Regions from separate parts of the Homo sapiens genome. Here region 1 is linked to region 2. The links are contacts of gene promoters, found by promoter capture Hi-C in human tissues and cell types (Jung and others, 2019). All regions are on one chromosome and are shown on one strand. Each heading gives the region's core, a stretch centred on a gene start or on the middle of the fragment in contact. The rest is flanking DNA. Distances are from core to core; before and after follow the strand shown. Region 1 overlaps ABLIM3 (actin binding LIM protein family member 3). Region 2 holds the start of AFAP1L1 (actin filament associated protein 1 like 1).

Region 1 (5,951 bases), core at 1,417-3,916, 51 kb before region 2:
GTGGAGAGACTTTGTTTGGACTTAAAATGAACTCATGGCCCTTTCCCTTGTCTTCCTGTGCCCTTCTTTGGAAATCCTATCATTTGAGGCCCAGTTCAGTCACTACATGCTTCATAGGCACCCAGGATTTCCCCAACCCCACCCACAATTTAACACAGTCCTCTCTTCCCCCATCCCCACAGCCCTCTGTCTGCCCCTGGTCCCCTCCAGCTTGTATGAGAGTTGTTGGCCTCCTCCCTAAGGTCCTGTGCTCCTGGCACTTGTCCCTCAGCCCTGACCCTGGCCCATGCATACTCCCTCCACAGGTGAATGTCATTGGTGGAATCGCTGTGATTGGATAGCCATCTTGAGAAGGAATTAGGGCCCTTCCTCCAGGTAGATCTAAGGCCAGGGCAGCAGTTACAGGGAGTGTGTCAGTATCAGCTTGTCCTAGCCACAATGCCCACAGCCATGAGTTCCCTCAAGATGCAATGAGTCCCCCTGTGCCTACAGCTGAGTTCCTTAGCCTCAGCACTGGTGACACTGTGGGCTGTCCTGTGCATTGTAGGGTATTTGGTACCATCCTTGGTCTCTACCCATTAGATGCCAACCACGTGCTTCTTCCCACTGACAATCAAAAATGTCTCAGATATTGCCACATGTCCCTAGGGGGTCAAAATCATCCTCAGTGGAGAACCACTGGCCCAGAGCTACCCAACAGAAACTTGTGCCATCTGCTAAGAATCCTGGAGCAGGAATTCCTATGTTGGATTAAACAAAGTGACCATTTCTAAGATGCTGTCTACTTACTTATATGAACTGATGCTGGAGTGGTAAGGATCCCAGAGTCACTCTAAACTGTAAAGTGCCAACCCTCATTGTAGAGATGGGGAAAATAGACCCAGAGAAAAGAAGAGACTTGTGTGAGAATGGGAGTGCGTCAGGGCAGAGCAGGGCCTGGCCTTGCGTCTCCCCTCCAGGGTTCTTTCCACTTTACCCCTGGGACCCAGGCCCTGCCTGATATTCAGGTCCCTGTCCCTTCCTGTGCACACCAATCCCTCATTGCCTGGGTTCTTGAGTGATTCCTGCTGCAGGAACCAGTGTTATGAGGCTCAGCAACCTGCACCCTGCCTTCATCCTGACCACCATGGGAACCTGGAGTTTGCACTTGGCTTGAAAATTTGTTGCACAATATTCCTCTCCTCCTTCCCTGGTGAACAAACCTCCTAGTATTGAAACTGCCCTCCCATTCTCATCCCTACCTGGATATCACTAGAATAAACCACGTCTTTGCCTCCCTGCCTGAATTCCTAATCTTAATCTTTCCCTGTTGGGTGCTTTCACCCAGAGTGCCTCAGGGGGGATCCTGGCTCCACTGATTACTAAGTTTTTGACCTTGGGCAAGTCTCGTAACTCTCTGAAACTTGGCTGTCTAATATGTAAAATAGACCGAGAACAGTTGCTATAAGATATAGGTGTAGTAATTTCGTGACACATGGGAAGCTCCCATTTCAATCATTCATTTAGCAAATATCTATTGAGGATCTACTGTGTCCCCGCTGCTGTTCTCACAACTGAAGGTGTGGCAGTGAGCAAATCAGTCAAAGGCCCTGCCCTCATGGAGCTCACAGCCTCACAGGTTAGTGCTTTCATTCTTCCAACTTCCCACAGGTGCTAAAAGAGTTAAGCAAGGAAGTAAAGTGCATAGCTTTGTGATCCTGAGAGAGAATGCACCATTAAACCTACAGTGGAAATGCCTCCAAGGGTGGGAGATATTCTTAGTAATGAAGATGAGCCTGTCACCTTCTCATTAATTATCCCCATCCCTCTCCTGGCTCCTGGGAGAGTGGGAGTAATTGCAGGGCATTCAAGGACCTGCCTGAAAGGATGCTAAGTGATCCTGGAATGAGGGGGACCAGGCCAAGCAGTGCTAGAGTCACGCTCACTTGGGCTGTGAGTGTCTTGTGGGGGTTCTGCTACCACTGAGATCTGGGCCTTGGACACCCTCACCAAGTGGGGACACCAGGATTCAATATGATATCCCCCAGAATTGGCAAGAAAACCCTGCTCCTGGGTAGCTCAGGAGTGTAAAGAAGTGGCTGAGAGCCAGGACTCCCGGGTTCAAGCGTCAGCAATTCCACTAATAGGCTGTGACCTTGAGAAGTGGCTTCCTTCTCTGGATCTCTTGCTTCACCTGTAAAATGAGGATAACATCATCGTCTTTCATTGATCCACTCAAACTGGGGGCCACGCTATGTGCCAGGCTCTCTGCTACATGTTGGGCATTCAGAGATGAGTGAGGCAAGCATGCTTGCTGTCCTGGTGGAGTTCACTCTCTGGAAAGAGAAACCAACAGTGCCAAATAGAAGTGTAAACATTCAATGACAAGCTGTGACAAGTGCTGCACAGAGAAAGTTTTGAACAATGGGCATGTGTTATAAAGCCCCTGCTCTAGTCTGGGAAGCCAGGGAAGGTGCCCCTAAAAAGGGATATTTCAAGCCAAGACCTTGAAAATGAGTAGGAGGTGGGAGGCTGAAAAGGGCAGGAAGATTGAGGAGGCAGTGAGAACAGTGAGTGCAAAGGCCCTCCCTGGGTGGGTGGAAGCAGAACGAGGTGGAGAAACTGAGGCAGGCCCACTTACCTGGCACACAGAGAGCAACCATATGCCACAAGGTCCTCATGAACATTAGAGGAGAGAGTGAATGTGAAGGCACTGGGGACTCCATAAAGCAACTTATATAAGAGAGAGAGAGTGTTGGGATGCCTGCAAAGCTTACAAACCCAGCCTTGTCAGTTCTGGAGCTGGACACAGCATGGTACTGGCAAATGGTCCTTGGGAGATTCTTTGGGTGAGTTTGTTTGTGTTTTAATTGCTATGTGATGGCTTTCTGATGGGCTCTAATTGGGAGAAGTCTGACGTCTGTCTGGAGGAGAACTTCTGGGGCCCCAGGAGACAAGAGCAAGTTTTATTTGTTTTAAGTTCTGTTGTGTATTCAATCTTTTAACTGTGTTTGTAAAGATGCCAAATATCTAATCTGTTTGTTATCCAAACCCTTCATTTGGGCTTCACCAGGAAATTAGGTCACTCATTTTGTGCAGCAAAATAATGGCCAAAATGCTGCAGGTTCAGGGCAAAACTTATACTGAAATCCCAAAGGTTGCAGTTACTAGATCAGTGAGAGTTTTTTTAAAATCCCAAATGTGGTTCATGAGACAAATTTTGCTCTTGTTCTAAATGTGCCTGTACCCAGGAAAAGGGAGAAAATAGACTCTTCTTCTACCCTTCTGTCTACACCAAATACCCTCCTGTTCTAAGACCTGAGACAATAACCCTGGAATTACGTAAGTTCAGCTGCACATTTTAAAACAATTCGCTGTTATCATTTGTATATTTAACTAAAACCCACAAGGCAGGAAATCATTTATAAAATACTGGACAAACCTCACTCTGCTAAAGAAAAGTATTATAACAAATTATAGGTCTCACCAATAATAATGATAATAATAAAAATATTAATAATAATAAAATGCCATCATTTTATTATTATTATTAATAATATAATTATTATTTGTTGGTATACTTTGAGCATTTACTATGTGCCAAGTACTGTACTAAGAGTTTGAAACACAGTATCCCATTTTATCCTCACGACAACCCTGTCAGCTAAAAACTATTAATGTCCTCATTTTAGAGGATGAGAATGAAAGTTTCAAGAGCATACGCCACTTAGCCAAAGTGGGCCTGTCTTGCTAGGGTTCTTGGAGGCAATTTTCTTACATCTATATTACCAGAATTCTTAAACTGGTTCATGGTCAGCCTTTTGAACTCTATGAGTCTTCTGAAATTGCTTGCTAAATTTTGCATGCTAGGTGTGTTTCTTTAGGCAGAGGGTCCATAGCTTTCATCAGATTTTCAGAGGTGTCCATGGGCCAAAATAAAGTGAAGAGACTTGGTTCTGTGTTAACACAAATCCGAAACGGAGTCTCAAAAGCTTGTTTTGATAATTACACCAAACCCCAAACCCTTCTCTTGTGTAACTGAATCTATTTCAGATTACTTTTTTTTTTTTTTTTTTTTTTTTAGCTCAGAGGATACAAGGTCCTGGTTTCAGGAGCTGTGTATTTCTGGCATGGCTGGGTTGTAACTCAGAAAAGGTGCACTAAGCTGAGAGATGTTCAAGTGAGGGCCTCCCATTGTTATGGGTTGTGGAACGCCAGCCCTCAGTCATCATCTACGCATTTCATGAAACCACCCTCTAAAAGGCACTACTGTAGTATTGGTTGCTATAATTTCGTAGTTTAGCATTATTACTTTAAATTGGATCTCTCTACTGACAGCTTAGGTTGTAGGAGTTATGCTTAAAAACTTTAAATCTTATGTTTCCCCAATCCTACTACCTAATTTTAGATTTTTCAGACATATTCTGTTACTGTACTAAATTGATACTTCCTGAAGTCTGACTCTACTAAGCATATTTCATTTTAAATAGAGTATATTTTAATTTTTGGCGAGCTGCCATTTTTTTTTTTATTTAGATTTTAAGGGTTACCAAGCATCTTGAATCATATAGAAAGTATTACAGTGTAGTAGCTTAAGGTTTGTATTTCTAAAGTTTGTTTCCAGCTTCTCCTCTCAGGTCACCACAGACTCATGCCGATGTGGCCATTTTCTCGCCTGTCACATGTCACATCGACTTCAGCAGTCAATTTGTCCATGTTGGTCAGAATTAGGTCTAGAGTAGCAATTTCCCGGCTTACTTCCTCTATTTTCTGAGAAACAAAATTGCCTGCTGGGCAAGTCAAGAACTTGTCAGATATTCAGGTTTTAGCTCGATGAGACATTTTATTAGTCTAGACATTTTAGGTGACAGAAACCTAACTCAAGCTATGTTAGGCAAAAGAAGATTGATCAGCTCACAGAACTAAGAAGCGTCTAGGAGCAGCACAGCTGGGTCGAGGGGCCCGTGAGCACCATCAGGTGGTTCTTCTCCCTGTTTCTTTTTGTGTTTGGCCCCATGCTCTCCTGCCCAGACTGGCTGTCTCCATGCAGTAGGACAGAGGGCCTGGCCAGCCCCCTGCCACCATCAGTACAGAGAGGCAGCATGTCCCGCTAAGCTCAGCAGAGAAGTTCCAGAGAGTCTGAGGACCTGTTGCCCACACTCAGGCCAGGGTGGGGAGACAGAGACGGACAAGCAGGTTAGACATCCAAGCTCCCTAACCCCCAACTTCCCATCTGTAAAGAGGGATGAGGCTAGGCTCCATCTCACAAGGCTGTTGTGAAGATTAAATGAACTAATGAATGCATGGTAAAGACTCAGCACAGGGACTAGCATTGCTGGTTCTGCCAGTCTGAGCTCATGATAATCAGCCAGTTATATAGAAATGGCCATTCCCATGTTGCAATGCAGTAGTAAGTGCTTGCTGTTGTCAATATTATCAGCATTTTTAAGAATACTTAGCATAAGGTGCAGCATATATACTCAATAAATGGCAGTTATTATTTTTTATATTTAAGCACTATTGTTATAAAGTGTGTGACACAAGGCCTGGTATCGACACTCTATAAATATTAGTTATAATAGTAACAATAGGAATAATAAGAATACTTAGGGCCTGGCACATACTAAGCACTCAATATACTTTAATTACTGTCCCAACTGTTATTATCAGCACCTATTATTTCTCGTGAATTACAAGGCACCTCAGAATTGCCATTTTCCCCTTCTCATCCTGCCCGATATCCTCCATGGTAACCAGCCTCATGGTAACTAAACACTTTTCTCCCTCCAACCTCTTTATTAAGCTTCAGGCCCACTTCATCATGTCAGCTCCAGGCAAGTAGGTCTTTCCCACTTCTCCCGAGGTGCCCTTGTCCCTGGGCACAAGCCCAACCTCCCAGGAGGGTGCGCTGGCAACCAAGCCAGGCTTCTGTTCAGTGACTCCACCTGCATAGCCAGCCTGCCATGTGCTGC
Region 2 (6,213 bases), core at 1,769-4,268:
ACAATAATTTATATTATATTATTTTATACATGTCTGTCTCCTCTACTAGATTGTAGATTCCCTGAGGGTGAGAATCATTCCTACTTAGCATTTCTTCTCTCAATAGAAACTTGCACAGAGTGCAATCAATATTGCCTAAGCGAATTTATGGGCAGTGTGGATTGTTAGTTTTTATGAGGAATATAGAACTCACTAAAGGAAACATACAGAAAAAAAAAAAAGTTATTCCTTGTCCAAACCCGCAAATAACTTTTTCATCCATCTCAGTTACTCTGACAGCAACCAAGCTGTAGACAACTAGTCAACATTGCCACCTAGTGGACATTATGGGTAATTATTTAAACCAGAACCCCTATACCTTGCCAGCAACAATTTTTTGTTGATTCTCAGAACTGTGCACAGACTGTGTTCTCCCATTTCTATATCCTTCCCAGACCACAGCTCAGTTAATTCCACTCCATAAATTATTCCATTTTCCTTAGCCTTTTTTACTTTTTCGTTCCAATTCTCTGAATATATCTCCAAAGTCCTTGAAAGTTTCTGAAAGTTCTCTAAACATCTCTACAGGCTCATGCCTGTCATCCTAGCACTTTGGGAGGCCGAGGCCGGAGGAGCATTTGATCTCAGAAGTTCGAGACCAGCTTGGGCAACATAGTGAAACCTTGTCTCTATCTTAAATATTTTTTTAAACATTATAAAAATAAAAATATTTACAAAAGCCTCCGTCTGTTTTTGCAATAGTAACATTTCATACTGTTTTTCTAAATTATTTCAAATGAAATATTATGTTTTTAGAAGAATTAGTGAGCTAGCCTGAGAACTTAAAATACAATTTATGGGAGGCCGGGCGCGGTGGCTCACGCCTGTAATCCCAGCACTTTGGGAGGCTGAGGCGGGTGGATCACGAGGTCAGGAGATCGAGGCCATCCTGGCCAACATGGTAAAACCCCGTCTCTACTAAAATACAAAAAATAATAATAATAATAATTAAAAAATAAAATAAAATACAATTTATGGCCTTGTTTCCAAGTGTTCAGAGTTCAAACAATAAACTTTTAAAACTTAATCCACTGGTAAATTGTTGGTTGGCTGCTTTAGAATTGAAACTGACCTTTTCAAATTGGAAAAGGGGACAGCAACAAAAAGGAACTCAGAAAATAATAATGGCTCATATTTTATAGCTGTTTGTGGTTTATAAAGTGGGTTTGTATTATTTCATTTGCCCTACCAACAGTCCTGTGAGGACTTACAGTATGAGGCTTCCCATAGCACAGATGAGCAAGAAAACCTCATTGACGAAAAGTTATTATACTATGTAGTATTTAGATTGGAGCAAAAGTAATAGCGTTTTTTGCCATTACTTTCAGTGGCAAAAACCACTATTACTTTTGCACCAAACTAACAGAACAAGAGCCATGCACAAGTTTTCATACACTGTTCACAACATCACATTTGGTCTGAGTGCTCACACACACACACACTAAATTACTGATGCAATATTTTAAGAAAATGTTAATTTTAATTTGCCCATAAAAGCAATAGAGAAAATATTCCCGGCCAGGCTAGGTGGCTGGCGCCTGTAATCCCAGCACTTTGGGAGGCCGAGGCAGGTGGATCACCTGAGGTCAGGAGTTCGAGACCAGCCTGGCCAACATGGCGAAACGTCGTCTCTACTAAAAATACAAAAATTTGCCCGGAGTGATGGTGGGCGCCTGTAATTCCAGCTACTCAGGAGGCTGAGGCAGGAGAATTGCTTGAACCCGGGAGGCAGAGGTTGCAGTGAGCCGAGATCGCGCCACTGCACTCCAGCCTCGGCGACAAAGGGAGACTTTTCAAGAAAAAAAAAAAAGAAGAAAAGAAAATATTCCCAGTCCAGGAAAGTACAGGAGGGTCTTTCCCAGGCCTTTTGTTGCCTCCATACCTCTGTGGTAGCTGTTCCCTGTTCCAGAATGTTCTAAGTAGGGAACAGTGGTCAGCTCAAAGCTGAAAACCATGGCCTGGCCCATGGTGGGAGGAGCAGTGTCTAGGAGAACAATTGGTCCTGGACTTTATGAAGGGTCTTAAAGTCAGACATTTGATATTGTGTATAAATGAGTGAGACCTATTTTCACAGGGATATACTAATAAGGTGAAGAAGTTGACATTCTTCATACAGCTTTAAACTTAGATCCCATTACTGTTCCACACTGGTCATAGCAATATTTTCTACAATCTTGCGAAAAGTACACTTATATTGCACTGTATTTTGTATGCTAAAAGTATTCATTTCCACATTTTTTATCACCCTGTTCTGCATGTTTTCACGTGTTACTCATTTTTCTATTCTTTTTCTGAATTCTCCCAGATCCTCGTTATGTTTTCACGTTTTAGTACACAAGGAACCTCAAAAGTTGAAAGTGTCCCAAGCCCTTGCCCACCTTTCAGCAAGCCTCTCTTTCTCCCTTTCCCAGGTGCTTTTCTTTCTGAAGATCTTTGTTATTATTTAACTCCTCTTTCGCAACACCACTGACATTGCACCGGCATCGCCGCGGGCCCACTGTCTGGCTTAGAAGGTGCTCAAGAAAGACCCGCGGCGAATGGAGAAGACAAGCCCAAAGCCAGGAAATGGGTGGCGGCTGCAGGGAAGGGGGTTTTGATTCCCTAGGATAAAAACGCGCTCCAACAGTCTCCGCATTCCGGCATGGAGCCGGCTGAGGGGTGCGGTGGTAAGACCCCATCGCTAGCGGAGTGCAAGCAAAGCCGCACACCTCCTGGGTCCGGGCTGGGGCAGGCCGCGCGGGCGCGGGAACGAACGCGTGCGGACGGGGAAAAGGGTCCTCCAAGCCCAAGTGGGAGCGCCGCGGAGGGCGAGCGAGCGGCAGGGCGCGGCGGGGCGTGTGCGGCACCACGGGACAGCGGGCTGCGGCCCAGGGGGCGAGGCGTGCTCGGGTCTATTCCGGGAGCGGCTCTGAGGGGCGGGCGCGGGCGCGGGCGGGGCGGGGGCTGCCGGCGAGCATCCTGTCTGGGGGAGGGGACCGCAGAGAGCGCCGGCCGCTGGGCTGGCCTGAGAGCGCAGCGCGCCGGCCGCTACCAGCCGCGCCGGAGCCCCTGCGCCCTGCGGCCCGCTCCCCGGGGACCGGGCCGGCGCCATGGACCGAGGCCAGGGTAAGAGGGGCCGCGACGCCCGCACTTGTTGCGGCGCCGGGCGGGAAAGGGAGACTGGACGATCTGAAGCCGGAGAGGAGGAGGGAGAGAGGCGGGCGGTGGGGCGGGGGCTGAGGAACGCTCGGAGGGGACTGGGAGACGCGGCGCTTATGCAAAGGTGCCTTCGGCTGCCGGGACAACCCGGTGCGTGTCAACGCCCGTGTCCTGGGGCCAACTCGCCTCTCGTGTGTGAAATCAGAGTTTTCATAGGCTAACGATTTGTAACTTCATAAAAGATCCCCCTCTAGTTTCCGGAGGACAGCGAGCTCCTCCCACCTCATTCCACTCTAAAGGGGAAAACAAGGTGTACAGGTTCAACTCCCGAAACACCCGCTGTGGGCAGCCCCTAGGGAGAAGCTCTAGGGGACCGAAGTTTGCAGCTGCCTAGGGCATTGCGAGAAGGAGGAGCGCCGTGAGCAGGCGCGCGTGTGCATGCATGTGTGCGCCAGGGAGGGAGGAGGCGGGGGTGGTTCTATCCCGCACCAGCTGTGTCCTCGGCCCAGCCCTTCTCTCTGGACCAGCGACAAAGTTGGACTAGATGGTCTCCAAGGCACCTTGCCGACCCTTTTCCAGTGTATTTGGTAGACGTTTCACAGAAGTGGAGGGGACTTACTGAAATTGAGATTGACATAAGCCGAGAGGGCAGCATTCGTAGGGGGCTAGCGCACATTTTTTTCTGTTTGTTTTGTTTTGTTTGAGACGGAGTTTCGCTCTTGTTGCCCAGGCTGGAGTGAAGTGGCGCGATCTTGGCTCACTGCAACCTCCGCCTCCCGGGTTCAAGCGATTCTCCTACCTCAGCCTCCCGAATAGCTGGGATTAGAGGCATGCGCCACCACACCCGGCTAATTTTTGTATTTTTAACAGAGACGGGGTTTCACCATATTGGCCAGGCTGGTCTGGAGCTCCTGACCTCAGGTGATCAGCCGGCCCCGGCCTCTCAAAGTGCTGGGATTACGGGCGTGAGCCACCGCGCCCGGCAGCGCACATTTTAAGTAAAGGTCTAGACATGGCCTTTGGCAATGGCCAGATGGGCATGTGTGTGTCTGTAAAGAAGTGGCCTGCTTGGACATGTGAACAGTGTCAGAGGCTGGGAATCAGAACCCCAGGGTTTCAGTCTGCACCTCTGGGATCCAAAGAGATCACAGGTGTGACGGCACTAGATAAACTAGTGAGTGCTGTGCCAACAGGCGAAGTGTTGTTGTTGTTGCTGTTATTAATAATGGAAAATTCATTCCCCTCCCCACGATAATCTCACACCTCTCCCCCATCTGCCTGTTTGCTGTGCTGAGCCCCCGAAGGGAGGAAAAAAAGAAGGGAACAGGGGCATGGGAGCAATTAGCAGGCACTGGGGCAGGGATGAGCCGGGAGCAGGTGTGGGGTAACCTCCCTTACTCCTGTTAAACGGAAAGTCAGGCTTGGCGAGCTCAGAGGGCCAGAGGGGACTCCTGGCTTCCAGTTCAACCTCCTCACTTGCCCCTCCCCAACAGAGAATACTGCATTCACCTTCTCCTTCAGGGACTGGGAAGGGCAGGCAGGAAAGAGAGTGGGCTTCTGTTTGGTTCTTTAGCAACTGAGGCCTAGATTTGTAAAGCAGTTCTCACCTGTTAACTGATTTCTAGGCAAGTGTGAAGAGTGTACATCAGGGAGGAAAAACAGAGAGAAGAGGCACCTCTCACACCCCTCAGTCCTGCTGTTCCCACCTCCTGCATAATGCGTCTAAAGCAAATACCACCATCCCCCCTCCCCTTCACACTCCTAGTCGCCCGCCACCTCCCCAACCTCTCCACCACCCCCACTCCCCACCAGTTTTTAAATACCAACCTGTCTGATCTCCAGTACAAAAATCCATACCTAGGCCTACCCAGGCCTGTGGAAAGTGCACTGTGTCATCCTAAGACAGAGTGACAATAGTTCACTTCACTTTAAATGCTTGGTAACCAACAACCTCCACGTCAGAAGGCTGCCTCCAGAGCACTCTTCCTAGGAAGTCAGACTTCCCAGGAATCCCTTGGTGCTGAGAGCCTAGGAGGGCTCTGACCTGCTCTCTCCCTGCAGGCTTTTCTAGCCTGCTATCTTTCTTTACACCTCTTGTCACAACTTTATAGACATAGTTATCTGACTCTTTAGTGTCGGCCTCCCTACCCAGAAGTAAGCTTCAGGAAGGCAAGGAGTGGATCTATTGTGATCAATCTGCTGACACTGCACCTGGCACATAGTGCACAGTGAGGAGCTCCAACAGTGGTTTAATTAGTAAAATACAACACACTTTATAGTGCACCTCGAATTGATTACTTGTACAGCAATACTTAGTAGTATTCTCTTTTTAAAAATCAACATTGCTGTACAAGTAATCAGTTTGAGAATAGTACTAAGTATACTCAGATCAGTTCTTGGTGACTTACAAAGGCCATCTCAAGTAAAGTGGTCTTGTGGCTGGGCACACAAGATCAGTTTAACTGTCTGGCTCCTCAGTTCTCTACTCTGATAAATAATTGCAAACACAACCGTTTATGAATCAGAATGAAAAATCTGCATGCATTTTTAAGATAAAACATGAGACTTCAAGTATTCCAGGCTGGGCACAGTGGCTCACGCCCATAACCCCAACACTTTGGGAGGCCAAGGTGGGTGGATCACTTGAGGTCAGGAGTTCGAGACCAGCCTGCCCAACATGGTGAAACCACATCTCTACTAAAAATACAAAAATGAGCTGGGTGTGGTGGCGGGCGCCTGTAATCCCAGCTACTCGAGAGGCTGCGACAGGAGAGGAGGCATCGCTTGAACCTGGGAGGTGGAGGTTGCAGTGAGCCGAGATCGAGCCATTGCACTCCAGCCTGGGCGACACAGCAAGATTCTGTCTCAAAAAAAAAAAAAAAAAAGTATTCCAGCAGACCTTTCTTGTACCCCTGTTCCCAGGCAGGTGTGCACTCTCTTCTGTCATCAGGGAAGGCTTAAGAAGCACAGGTCTCATTTCAGCCTCCTGCCTACCATGTGAGAGATGGGACTGTCATGCCCAGCTGACTAGGGAAG

What was found. The method cuts DNA at HindIII sites, captures the fragments that hold promoters and counts their contacts. A contact is called where the count stands out against the background at its distance.
Region 1: a contact is called between a fragment that was not itself captured here and the fragment with the promoter of AFAP1L1 in region 2, in 2 of the 25 tissues and cell types used here (H1 embryonic stem cells and IMR-90 fibroblasts).

Annotation. Positions count from the first base shown.
Region 1 is chr5:149,218,625-149,224,575 of GRCh38, forward strand. All of the region lies in intron 8 of ABLIM3 (actin binding LIM protein family member 3), which reads left to right. Among named protein-coding and RNA genes, the nearest start is that of AFAP1L1, 50 kb to the right of the region's middle. The HindIII fragment of the contact is 4,420 bases long and covers 457-4,876 here.
Region 2 is chr5:149,268,841-149,275,053 of GRCh38, forward strand. AFAP1L1 (actin filament associated protein 1 like 1) reads left to right here and starts at 3,019. Exons shown (of 19, transcript NM_152406.4): 1 at 3,019-3,144. The coding sequence starts at 3,129. RefSeq lists enhancers at 2,998-3,537, 3,538-4,079, 4,080-4,619. The HindIII fragment of the contact is 7,342 bases long and covers 1-6,213 here.